Linked DNA regions of Homo sapiens: regions 2 and 3 are each linked to region 1. The links are contacts of gene promoters, found by promoter capture Hi-C in human tissues and cell types (Jung and others, 2019). All regions are on one chromosome and are shown on one strand. Each heading gives the region's core, a stretch centred on a gene start or on the middle of the fragment in contact. The rest is flanking DNA. Distances are from core to core; before and after follow the strand shown.

Region 1 (3,925 bases), core at 507-3,006:
CAGGGGTGGTGGCAGGGCCTGTAATCCCAGCTACTCGCAAGGCTGTGGCAGAATTGCTTGAACCCAGGAGGCGGAGGTTGCAGTGAGCTGAGATCGCGCCACTGCACTCCAGTCTGGGCAATGGAGCGAGACTCTGTCTCAAAAAAAAAAAAAAAAGTCGGGTGTGGTGGCGGTCACATGTAATCCCAGCTACTTAGGAGGCTGAGGCACAAGAATCGCTTGAACCCAGGAGGTGGAGGTTCATTGAGCCGAGATTGTGCCACTGCATTCCAGCCTGGGTGACAGAGTGAGATTCTGTCTCAAAAAGAAAGAGATTCTTCTCCACCTTCTAAACGTTAAAGTGTTGAACTCCCACATTCTGTTTAAGAAGGACAATCCTGAGCACACGATTAGCCTTGTAAACTTTAGACTGACAGGCCAGGTGCAGTGGCTCACGCCTTTAATCGCAGAACTTTGGGAGGCTGAGGTGGGCAGATCACAAGGTCAGGAGATTGAGACCATCCTGGCTAACACGGTGTAAACCCTGCCTCTACTAAAAATAGAAAAAATTAGCTGGGCGTGGTGGCGGGTGCCTGTAGTCTCAAATACTAAATAGCCGGGCATGGTGGCGCACACCTGTAGTCCCAGCTGCTCGGGAGGCTGAGGCAAGAGAATCGCTTGAACCTGGGAGGCAGAGGTTGCAGTCAGCTGAGATCACGCCACTGCACTCCAGCCAAGGCAACAGAGGGAGACTCAGTCAACAACAACAACAACAACAACAAAAAGGCAGAGCGCGGTGGCACGGGGCCTGTAATCCCAGCACTTTGGGAGGCCAAGGTGGGCAGATCACCTGAGGTCAGGAGTTCAAGACCAGCCTGGCCAACATAGCAAAACCCCGTCTCTACTAAATACACAAAAATTAGCCGGGTGTGGTGGCAGGCGCCTGTAATCCCAGCTACTCAGGACACTGAGGCAAGAGAAGAGCTTGAACCTGGGTGGCAGAGGTTGCAGTGAGCCGAGATCACGCCATTGCACTCCAGCCTGGGCAACAGAGTGAGACTCTGCCTCAAAAAAAAAAAAAAAAAAAAAAAAAGCAAAGGGTGTCGCCTGTAATCCCAGCACTTTGGGAGGCCGAGGCAGGCGGATCACTTGAGGCCAGGAGTTCGAAACCAGCCTGGCCAACATGGCAAAACGTCGTGTCTACTAAAAATACAAAAAATTAGCTGCGCGTGGTGGTGGACGCCTGTAATCCCAGCTACTTGGGAGGCTGAGACAGGAGAATCGCTTGAACCCGGGAGGCGGAGGTTGCAGTGAGCCGAGATCACGCCATTGCACTCCAGCCTGGGCGACAGAGGCTCCGTCTCAAAACAAAAACAAAAACAAAAAAAAAACAAACCAAAACAAAAAACCAAAAATTAGCCGGCACCTGTAATCCCAGCTACTCGGGAGGCTGAGGCAGGAGAATCGCTTGATCCCGGGAGGCAGAGGTTGCAGTCAGCTGAGATTACGCCACTGTACTGCAGCCTGGGCGACAGAGGCTCTGGCTTAAAAAAAAAAAAAAAAAAAGGGAAAGGATGTTATAGAAACTCCAGATACTACTTCTCCCCTCCAGTGGTCTGAGTTGCGCGGCGCTTTCCCGCCTGTCCGGTAGGGCGGTGCCGCGCAGAAAGCCGCGGTCCCTCTGCGGAAGGCGCCGCTCTTGGCTTCGGCGGCGCCGCTGTAGCTTGAAGGCGGTACTTCCTCCAGCATTTGCCGCAAGTTATTGGCAAGTTCCCCTGCAGTTGTTTGGGCTGTCCCTGTGGCTGGTTCTGGGGTGTGCGGCCAGCCATGGAGCGCTCTGGGCCCAGCGAAGGTGGGTTTCATGAGGCGAGTCCGGGCGGGGTGGGCCGTGTCGGGGGAGCTGGGGCGCCGCACTAACTAGGCCGCCTCTCTTTTCCTCTTGCTCCAGTGACAGGCTCAGACGCGTCGGGACCGGACCCGCAGCTTGCGGTCACCATGGGCTTCACGGGGTTCGGTGAGTGACTGCCCCAGGCAGAGACCCTCTTCCTTGTGCAGAGGTTTGAAGATCCGCAGAGTGGGAGTGGAGATCGAGCTGTCAACTCGGAATTATTGTAGCTCGGGTGCATACCTTGCAGTTTGTCAATATTCTTCTCCCATTTGTCTTCTATTCTGCGTTATCCGTTGGAACCAACTCAGATGACAGTTATGAGAGTCTGGAGAGAGAGGAAGAGAAAGGATTTTTCTAATTTTAAGTCACCAATAATGCTAAAATGAACATTTTTGTAAATAACAGCATTTGTACGAGGATTTTTAAAAATACGTAATTCGGTAGGGTAGATTTCTAAAAGAGAGTGTAGTTTATTCAGAAATATAAATACTTAAAAAGCTGAAAAATTGGGTATGTGCCTTTTAAAGCTTCTTGATGCTTATTGCCGTAATACCCATCAAAAAACTTGTTCCAGGTTATACCAAAGTTAACAGAATTAAGAATGCCATTTTTACCATATCCCTACCAACACAGAGTAGGTATTATTATTTAAAAAGAAAATTATTTAAAAAATGAAAACAAAACTTAGTAGACTGATACATGAAAAATGATTTCTCTTTATTTTCCATTTTAAAATTATAAATGCTGTTCATCCAAACATTGGGATTCTAACTTCCCTGAACCTTTTCTCAAGGTCTTCTTGTTTTCTTTTGACCAGCGTGTATTAATTCTATGATAGTAATTAAACAGTAGACTTACACATATTGGCCTTGGGTTGTGTTCACACATACTAGTTCTGTAGTTTCTCTATTCATTCTTTTTTTTTTTGGAGACGGAGTCTCGCTCAGTCGCCCAGGCTGGAGTGCGGTGGCAAGATCTCGGCTCACTGCAATCTCTGCCTCCCGGATTCACGCCATTCTCCGGTCTCAGCCTCCCGAGTAGCTGGGACTACAGGCGCCCGCCACCTCGCCCGGCTGATTTTTTTTTTGTATTTTTAGTAGAGACAGGGTTTCACCGTGTTAGCCAGGATGATCTCGATCTCCTGACCTCGTGATCCGCCCGTCTCGGCCTCCGAAAGTGCTGGGATTACAGGCGTGAGCCACTGTGCCCAGCCTTTTCTATTCTTTTTTTATTTTTTGAGATGGAGTCTCGCTCTGTCACCCAGGCTGGAGTGTACTAGTGCGATCTTCGCTCATTGCAGCCTCCTCCTCCCAGGCTTAAGCCATCCTCCCACCTTAGTCTCCTGAGTAGCTGGGACCACAGATGTGTGCCACCACACCTGGCTAATTTTTTATACTTTTGGTAGAGACGAGGTTTCACCATGTTGCCCAGGCTGATCAATCTCCTGAGCTCAAGCAGTCCGCCCACCTGAGCCTCTCAAAGTGATTACAGGCATGAGCCACCCCACCCGGTATAAATCCTTCATTTTAGTACATCATTCCTTTACTCAGGAGTGAGAAAGTTGTCCATATGTTTGTGCCAAATAGGGGAAAATTTTAAGAGTTTTGATAAAGTTACTGGGGGAGGAGGAGAATGTTTCCATGCTCATCCAGTTCCTTGTTAGAGGGCTGAGATTTCTGTTTCCCTCTTAGCTCCTTAAAGTACCTGCATTACTTCTCATGTTGCCCCTTTCGTCTTCAAGCCAACTATAATGCCTCAAATTCTTCTCAGACATTGGATCTCTCTGACTTCTTCTGCCATAGCTGTTCTGCATCTTTGCCTTTAAGGGCCAAATAGGATAGTTTCCCTATTTAAAAGTCCATAACCTTAATTATATTGCAAAGGGTAACTTTTGGGGCATTCTCCATTTTGCCTCCCCACATCAGTGTTGTTGTTTCATAGGGTAGGGATCTAGAGGAGGATGGGAAAGTTGCCTGGTTAATAGTACTTAGTGAAGGGATTGTCAGCAGAAGTTTTCTGTGACTCAAACTCCTTCTTCTGTGATATATTATGGTTATA
Region 2 (3,925 bases), core at 737-3,236, 250 kb after region 1:
ATGGTGTCCATTGTGACATATCCTCTTCCGTTTATGATTTTTTCAAATTTGAGTCTCTTTTTTTCTTTTTTTCTGAGTTTCACTAACGTTTTGTTGATTTTGTTTATCTTCTCAAAGAACTAACTTTCTGTTTGATCTTTTGTGTATTTTTTAGTCTTTTTCTTTAGGGTCTCACTCTGTTGCCCAGGCTGGAGTGCAGTGGCTTGATCTTGGCTTATTGCAGCCTCAGCTTCCTGAGCTCAGGTGATCATCCTGCCTCTGCCACCTGAGTAGCTGGGACTACAGGTATGTGCCACCATGCCTGGCTAATTTCTGTATTTTTCTGTAGAGATGAAGTTTCACCGTGTTTCCCAGGAAACTTGAGAACGTTTCCATAGTTCTCAAACGTGTGGGCTCAAATGATCCTCCAACCTTGGCCTCCCAAAATGCTGGGATTACAGGCATGAGCTACCATGCCAGGCCTCAGTCTCAATTTTGTTTATTTATGCTCTGATTGTTTTTATTTCTTTTACTAATTTGGGGTTTGTTTGTTTTTTTTCTTCATTTTCTAGTTCTTTGAGGTGCATTGTTAGGTTTTTTATTTGAAATCTTTTTATTTTTTGGCATAGGCATGTATTACTATAAACTTGCCTCTTAATACTGCTTTTGCTGTGTGCCATAAGCTTTGGTACATCGTGTTTCTATTTCCATTTGTTTCAAGAAATTTTAAAATTTCATTCTTAATTTTGAGTTTAACCTGTTGGTTGTTTAGAAGCATTTTGTTTAGTTTCCATGTGTTGGTATAGTTTTGAATGTTCCTCTTGTTATGTCTAGTTTTATTTCATTGTGGCAAGATAAGATGCGTCATATCTTGATTTTTAAAAATTTATTGAGACTTGTTTTGTGCCCTAACATATGGTCAGTCCTGGAGAGTGTTCCATGTGCTGCTGAAAAGAATGAAGTTGTTAGGTGAAATATTCTGTAAATGTCTTTTAGGTCTGTGGTACAGTTTGTGTAGAAACAAGTTCTCACCCTGTCACCTTGGCTGGAGTGCAGTGGCGTGATCATAGTTCACTGCAGCCTTGAATTCCTGGGCTCAAACGATACTCCTTCCTCAGCCTCCTTAGTAGCTAGGACTATAGGCACATGACATCACAGCCAGCTTATTTTTTATTTTTTGTAGAGACAGAGTTTCACTACATTGCCCAGGGTTGTCTCAAATTCCTGGCCTCAAGTGATCCTCTGCCTTGGCCTCTCAAAGTGTTGGGTTTACAGGCATAAGCCTCCATTTCTGGCCTGTGGTGCAGTTTAAATCTATGTTCCTTTGTTGATTTTCTGCCTACATGACCTTTCCAGTGCTGAGAGTGGGGTGAAATTCCCTACTACATATTGAAGTGTTCCCCACTATGTACTGAAGCCCATTTCTCCCTTTAGATCTAATAATGTTTGCTTTATATATCTGGGTGCTCCTGTGTTGGATGCAAATATATTTACAATTGTTATATTCTCTTGCTGAATTGATCCTTTTATTATTATATAACGTACTTTTTTGTCACTTTATAGCTTTTAACTTGAAGTCTATTTTGTCTGACATAAGCATAGCTACTCCTGCTCACTTGATTTTCATGTGCATGTAATACTTTCAGTTTAAGTGTGTCTTTATAGCTGAGGTGAGATTCTTATAGGCAGAATATGTTTGGGTCTTGTTTTTTCATTCATTCAAATAGTGTATATGTTTTAAATGGGGGAATTTAATCCACTTACATTCAAGATTATTGATAGGTGAGGACTTACTCCTTTCATTTTGTTGATTTTCTGGTTATTTTGCATATCCTTTGTTCCTTATTCCCTTACTTATCATTTTTATGGTTAGGTGGTTTTCTCTAGTGGTAAGGATTGATTATTTTCTCTTCTTACTTTTGTATCAGCTCTACCAGTGAGTTTTATAGTTATACATGTTTTCATGATGGTAGCTGTTGTCTTTTCACTTCCAGATGTAAGACTCCCTTGAGCATGTCTTGTAAGACTGTTCTAGTGGTGATAAATTCCTTTAGTTTTTGCTTCTCTATTGGGAGATTTTATTTCTCCTTCATTTCTGAAGGATAGCTTTGCAGGGTATAATATTTTTAGCTAGCAGGGTTTCCCCACCCCTGCTTTCAGTACTTTGAATATATCATCCCATTCTCTCCTGGCCTGTAAGCTTTCTGCTGAGATATCTGCTGTTAGCCTAATGGAGATTCCCTTATTTATGACTTGACTCTTTTCTCTTGAATGCTTTTGGAATTCTTTGTCTTTTACTTATTACAATTTGACTATGTTGGGCTCCAGAGAGGACCTGTTTGGGTTGAATCTGTTTGGGGTTCTTTGAGCTCCCTGGACCTAAATGCTCATCTCTCTCCCAAGACTCAGGAAATTTTCTGCTATTATTTCATTAAATATGATTTCCTCACCTTTACCCTTCTTTTTTCCATCTGGAATGCCCATAGTATGAATATTTGCTTGCTTAATGATATCTCATAAATCCTTTAGGCTTTCCTTATTCTTTTTAATTCATTTTTGCCACTGCTTGTGTTATTTCAAAAGATCTATCTTCAAGTTCAGAAATTTTTTCCTCCATTTGGTATAGTCTGTTGTTGAAGCTCTCAATTATATTTTCTATTTCATTCATTTAATTCTCAGCTCTAGGATTTCTTTTTGGTTCTTTTTTATGATAATCCACCTCTTTCTTGAATTTATTACTTATATCATAAGTTGTTTTCCTGATTTTGTTGAATTGTTTATCTGTATTCTCTTGTATCTCACTCAGTTTCCTTAAGATTATTATTTTGAATTCTTTTTCTGGCATTGCATGTATTATGATTGTGGTCTGTTACTAGAGAATTATGTTTCTCTTTGGAAGTGACATGCTTCCTCGCTTTTTCATTATTCTGTGTCTCTGTATTAATTTCTGTGAATCTGGTGGTCGCCTCTTCCAATTTTATTCACTAGGTGTCACAAGGAAAGACTTACTCATATAAATGGATCTTGGGTTGTTGATTTGATGGAGTGCATTGGCTTTGGATCTAGGTGGACACAGTAGTGTAGTTGTCATAAAATTTCTTCAACCGTAATCCATACTGGGGGCATTTGAGAGTTTCTCAGTGGCCTAGGCTGAGAGAGTTTGTGGTGACAGTAGTGCAGCTTTGCCAGGCTTGGGCTAACTGGGCTGTCTCTTAGGTTGGGCATTTGTTCATGCACACAGTGGGTCAGGCAGCTTGGAGTCTGGCTCACTGGGGTTGTAGCCACAGGGATGTTACTCTAGCCAGGAGCACAGGCATGCTTGTAGTTGCTTGGCTAGACTAAGGCATGTCTGCTGGGGATGGCTCATAGGGCTGTTTCTCAGCCATGTATTTAGGCTCATGGCTGCTTCAACAGTCTGCAATGTTTCCACCAGGGGTGGCCTACAGCATTGTTTCTCAGACCCTTGTTGAGGATGTGAGGGGGTTGGGCAGGACATGTCTTGGGAGGGAAGAGGGCACTGTGTTTCTGAATCCCTGAGTGTGGGCACTTAGCCACTCCACTGGCCCAGGGCTATGTCAGCTGCTTGCAGACTTGTAGGCCTCTCCCACCTGGCAGAGGGCATGCAGTGGTTTGGCTAGCCCAAGGATGGATTTGTCCTAGGCAGGACTGGTAGGCTTTTAGTGCAATTGGGAGTGTGGCCCCAGGAGTTGGTTACCTGCTGTGTAGGACCATAGTCACAGCCAATCCTGGGCCCATACTCTGCACAGCTGGGATTGTGACATTCATATATAATGTATGGACTTGGCATAATCAATATGAAACCCCAGTGCTGGAGAAGTGCAGTAGGGCTACTGGCTCCCTGAGCAAGGAGCATTCCAGAGGTGCCTCAGGTAACAAGATGGCACTCTGCTGCAGTAGCTTGTCTCACAGGGGAGAGGGTGCACCT
Region 3 (3,925 bases), core at 394-2,893, 180 kb after region 1:
CTTGCTCTGTCACCCAGACAGATTGCACTAGTGCAATAATAGCCCACTGCAGCCTTGAACTCCTGGGTTCAAGCTGTCCTCCTTCTCCAGCCTCTTGAGAAGCTAGGACTATAGGTGCAGACCACCAAGAAGCCAATCTTGAAGAAAAAAATACAAGTCAAAGCTTGGCTGAGCCGGCCATGTGGTACACCTATGACTGGCAGGTTCATGTATATGTCATTATTACTGAGTCAACTGCATTCTTTTCTTAATTCCATGAAAAGCAGTCTACTATACATACTGTCAGGGGAAATCTACTAAGAAGATGACTGTGATTGGCTATTACAGACTTGCCATGTCTCGTTTCACTGGTATTACAGGAAAAAAGAAATTTCTTTAAATAATACTTTAAGTGCCACGAAGACGGGACAATTTGTACTTCTTGGTATCCTCTATCCTCTCTCTCAAAGTGCTAGAAAAATGGACCGATCTAACTAATATAGAAAACCGAGGGATAAGATTATTTTGGTCAGTCTATAAATCCATATTTTTGAATTCTTTTAGAAATAAAGTCTTCCTCATCGATATCACAGAGATGGTATACACTATGCTAAAACAGCTGTTTAATTTAAATTGCATAAAATATTTAGTTAAGCTATATAGCCAAAACACATGCTAACAACAAATAAGGTTAGCCACCTTGGTGGGGAAATGGAGTGATAGTTCTCTAGAATCAGGAAGAATTCATTTGTGGCAGCTGCTTTGTTGGCATGGTGCTAAAGCTTGTTTTATCCCCAACAAGGACAGGATCTGGTGTAGGAGGGTCTCAGCAACAGGCCATGTCGTTATGAGGGTTATTTTTATAAAATAGGTCTCATTGTATTGGCAAAGCTTAATCCTCTGGTGGGTAGAATCCCTTTTATTATAGTTCATATTGTGACTTACTGCTTTTTAGTAGTAAATTAGAAAGGTTCTCTGTTGATTTAACATAAAGATAGCATCTGAAATTGTAAGCAGTTTTGCTATTTATGTAAATATTGTTTCATGTGTTATTGTGGAAAAGGAAGAAAGAACTTGTGGATTTAGAGAATTAAGGTTGAAGGAAATAGTGGCAAGGAAAAAAGAGGCATTTGAGGTATTCCATGATGCTGTCTCATGGTCCTGGGGTCTACATATGAGGAGGTGACACCAAATGCATGTTAAAATTTTATGTCATTAAGTGAAAATTTTTCTTTGTTTTTTAAAATGACATACTAGGCTGGGCGCGGTGGCTCATGCCTGTTATCTCAGCACTTTGGGAGGCCAAGGCAGGTGGATCACTTGAGGCCAGGTGTTCGAGACCAGCCTGGTCAACATGGTGAAACCCCGTCTCTATTAAAATATAAAAATTAGCTGGGTGTGGTGGCACATGCCTGTAATCCCAGCTACTTGGGAGGCTAAGGCGCAAAAATTGCTTGAACCGGGAGGCAGAGGTTGCTGTGAGCCAAGATAACACCATTGTGCTCCAGCCTGGCTGACAGAGTGAGACTGTGTGTCTCAAAAGAAAAAAAAAAGTAAAATGACATCCTAGAAAAATCAGAAAACTTAGATCCTGCAAGTTAATTAATGGCTTTGAGGCTTAATTCTCTTTTTTTTTTTTTTTAATTGATCATTCTTGGGTGTTTCTCCCAGAGGGGGATTTGGCAGGGTCACAGGACAATAGTGGAGGGAAGGTCAGCAGATAAGTGAACAAAGGTCTCTGGTTTTCCTAGGCAGAGGACCCTGCGGCCTTCCGGCCTTCCGCAGTGTTTGTGTCCCTGGGTACTTGAGATTAGGGAGTGGTGATGACTCTTAACGAGCATGCTGCCTTCAAGCATCTGTTTAACAAAGCACATCTTGCACCACCCTTAATCCATTCAACCCTGAGTGGACACCGCACATGTTTCAGAGAGCACAGGGTTGGGGGTAAGGTCACAGATCAACAGGATCCCAAGGCAGAAGAATTTTTCTTAGTACAGAACAAAATGAAAAGTCTCCCATGTCTACCTCTTTCTACACAGACATGGCAACCATTCGATTTCTCAATCTTTTCCCCACCTTTCCCCCCTTTCTATTCCACAAAACTGCCGTTGTCATCATGGCCCGTTCTCAATGAGCTGTTGAGTACACCTCCCAGACGGGGTGGTGGCCGGGCAGAGGGGCTCCTCACTTCCCAGTAGGGGCGGCCGGGCAGAGGCGCCCCTCACCTCCCGGACGGGGCGGCTGGCCGGGCGGGGGGCTGACCCCCCCCGCCTCCCTCCCGGACGGGGCGGCTGGCTGGGCGGGGGGCTGACCTCCCGGCCTCCCTCCCGGATGGGGGGGCTGGCTGGGCGGGGGGCTGACCCCCCCACCTCCCTCCTGGACGGGGCGGCTGGCCGGGCAGAGGGGCTCCTCACTTCCCAGTAGGGGCGGCCAGGCAGAGGCGCCCCTCACTTTCCGGATGGGGCGGCTGGCCGGGCGGGGGGCTGGCCCCCCACCTCCCTCCTGGACGGGGCGGCTGGCCGTGCAGAGGGGCTCCTCTCTTCCCAGTAGGGGCGGCCGGGCAGAGGCGCCCCTCACCTCCAGGATTGGGCGGCTGGCCGGGCGGGGGGCTGACCCCCCCACATCCTTCCCGGACGGGGCGGCTGGCCGGGCAGAGGGGCTCCTCACTTCCCAGTAGGGGCGGCCGGGCAGAGGCGCCCCTCACCTCCCGGATGGGGCGGCTGGCCGGGCGGGGGGCTGACCCCCCCCCACCTCCCTCCCGGACGGGCGGCTGGCCGGGCGGGGGGATGACCCCCCCCACCTCCCCCCGGATGGGGCGGCTGGCCGGGCGGGGGGCTGACCCCCCCCCACCTCCCTCCCGGACGGGGCGGCTGGCCGGGCGGGGGGCTGACCCCCACCTCCCTCCCAGACGGGGTGGCTGCCGGGCGGAGATGCTCCTCACGTCCCAGACGGAGTGGCTGCCGGGCGGAGGGGCTCCTCACTTCTCAGACGGTGTGGCTGCCGGGCGGAGGGGCTCCTCACTTCTCAGATGGGGCGGTTGCCAGGCAGAGGGTCTCCTCACTTCTCAGACGGGGCGGCCGGGCAGAGACGCTCCTCACATCCCAGACGGGGCGGCAGGGCAGAGGCGCTCCCCACATCTCAGACGATGGGCGGCCTGGCAGAGACGCTCCTCACTTCCTAGATGGGATGGCGGCCGGGCAGAGACGCTCCTCACTTTCCAGACTGGGCAGCCAGGCAGAGAAGCTCCTCACATCCCAGACGATGGGCGGCCAGGCAGAGACGCTCCTCACTTCCCAGACGGGGTGGCGGCTGGGCAGAGGCTGCAATCTCGGCACTTTGCGGGGCCAAGGCAGGCAGCTGGGAGGTGGAGGTTGTAGCGAGCCGAGATCACGCCACTGCACTCCAGCCTGGGCACCATTGAGCACTGAGTGAACGCGACTCCGTCTGCCATCCCGGCACCTCGGGAGGCCGAGGCTGGCAGATCACTCGTGGTTAGGAGCTGGAGACCAGCCCGGCCAACACAGCGAAACCCCGTCTCCACCAAAAAAAATACGAAAACCAGTCAGGTGTGGCGGCTTGCGCCTGCAATCGCAGGCACTGGGCAGGCTGAGGCAGGAGAATCAGGCAGGGAGGTTGCAGTGAGCCGAGATGGCAGCAGTACAGTCCAGCTTTGGGTCGGCATCAGGGGGAGACCGTGGAAAGAGAGGGAGAGGGAGACGGTGGGGAGAGGGAGACCGTGGGGAGAGGGAGAGGGAGAGGAGGGAGAGGGAGAGGAGGGAGAGGGAGAGCGAGGCTTAATTCTCTTATCCATCAAATGTGGACAAGTTAGATCTTTTTACAGGAAAATTAGCTCTTAAGACTGCAGATAGAAAAAAATTTTTACTTCCTTTCCTAAGATGAAATTGTGAGACTCCCCTTGGTATGACAATTATATAGGATCCAATAA

What was found. Contacts are between HindIII fragments. The study calls those that stand out against the background at their distance.
Region 2: a fragment that was not itself captured here is called in contact with the fragment with the promoter of WDR70 in region 1 in 1 of the 25 tissues and cell types used here (lymphoblastoid cells).
Region 3: a contact is called between a fragment that was not itself captured here and the fragment with the promoter of WDR70 in region 1, in 1 of the 25 tissues and cell types used here (bladder).

What each region holds. Positions count from the first base shown.
Region 1 is chr5:37,377,562-37,381,486 of GRCh38, forward strand. It overlaps WDR70 (WD repeat domain 70), which reads left to right and starts at 1,757. Exons shown (of 18, transcript NM_018034.4): 1 at 1,757-1,831; 2 at 1,928-1,993. The coding sequence starts at 1,807. The HindIII fragment of the contact is 7,487 bases long and covers 1-3,925 here.
Region 2 is chr5:37,626,947-37,630,871 of GRCh38, forward strand. All of the region lies in intron 10 of WDR70 (WD repeat domain 70), which reads left to right. Among named protein-coding and RNA genes, the nearest start is that of GDNF-AS1, 210 kb to the right of the region's middle. RefSeq lists an enhancer at 3,399-3,899. The HindIII fragment of the contact is 4,042 bases long and covers 1-3,925 here.
Region 3 is chr5:37,560,841-37,564,765 of GRCh38, forward strand. All of the region lies in intron 9 of WDR70 (WD repeat domain 70), which reads left to right. Among named protein-coding and RNA genes, the nearest start is that of WDR70, 180 kb to the left of the region's middle. RefSeq lists an enhancer at 1,589-2,296 and a silencer at 2,104-2,282. The HindIII fragment of the contact is 4,709 bases long and covers 1-3,925 here.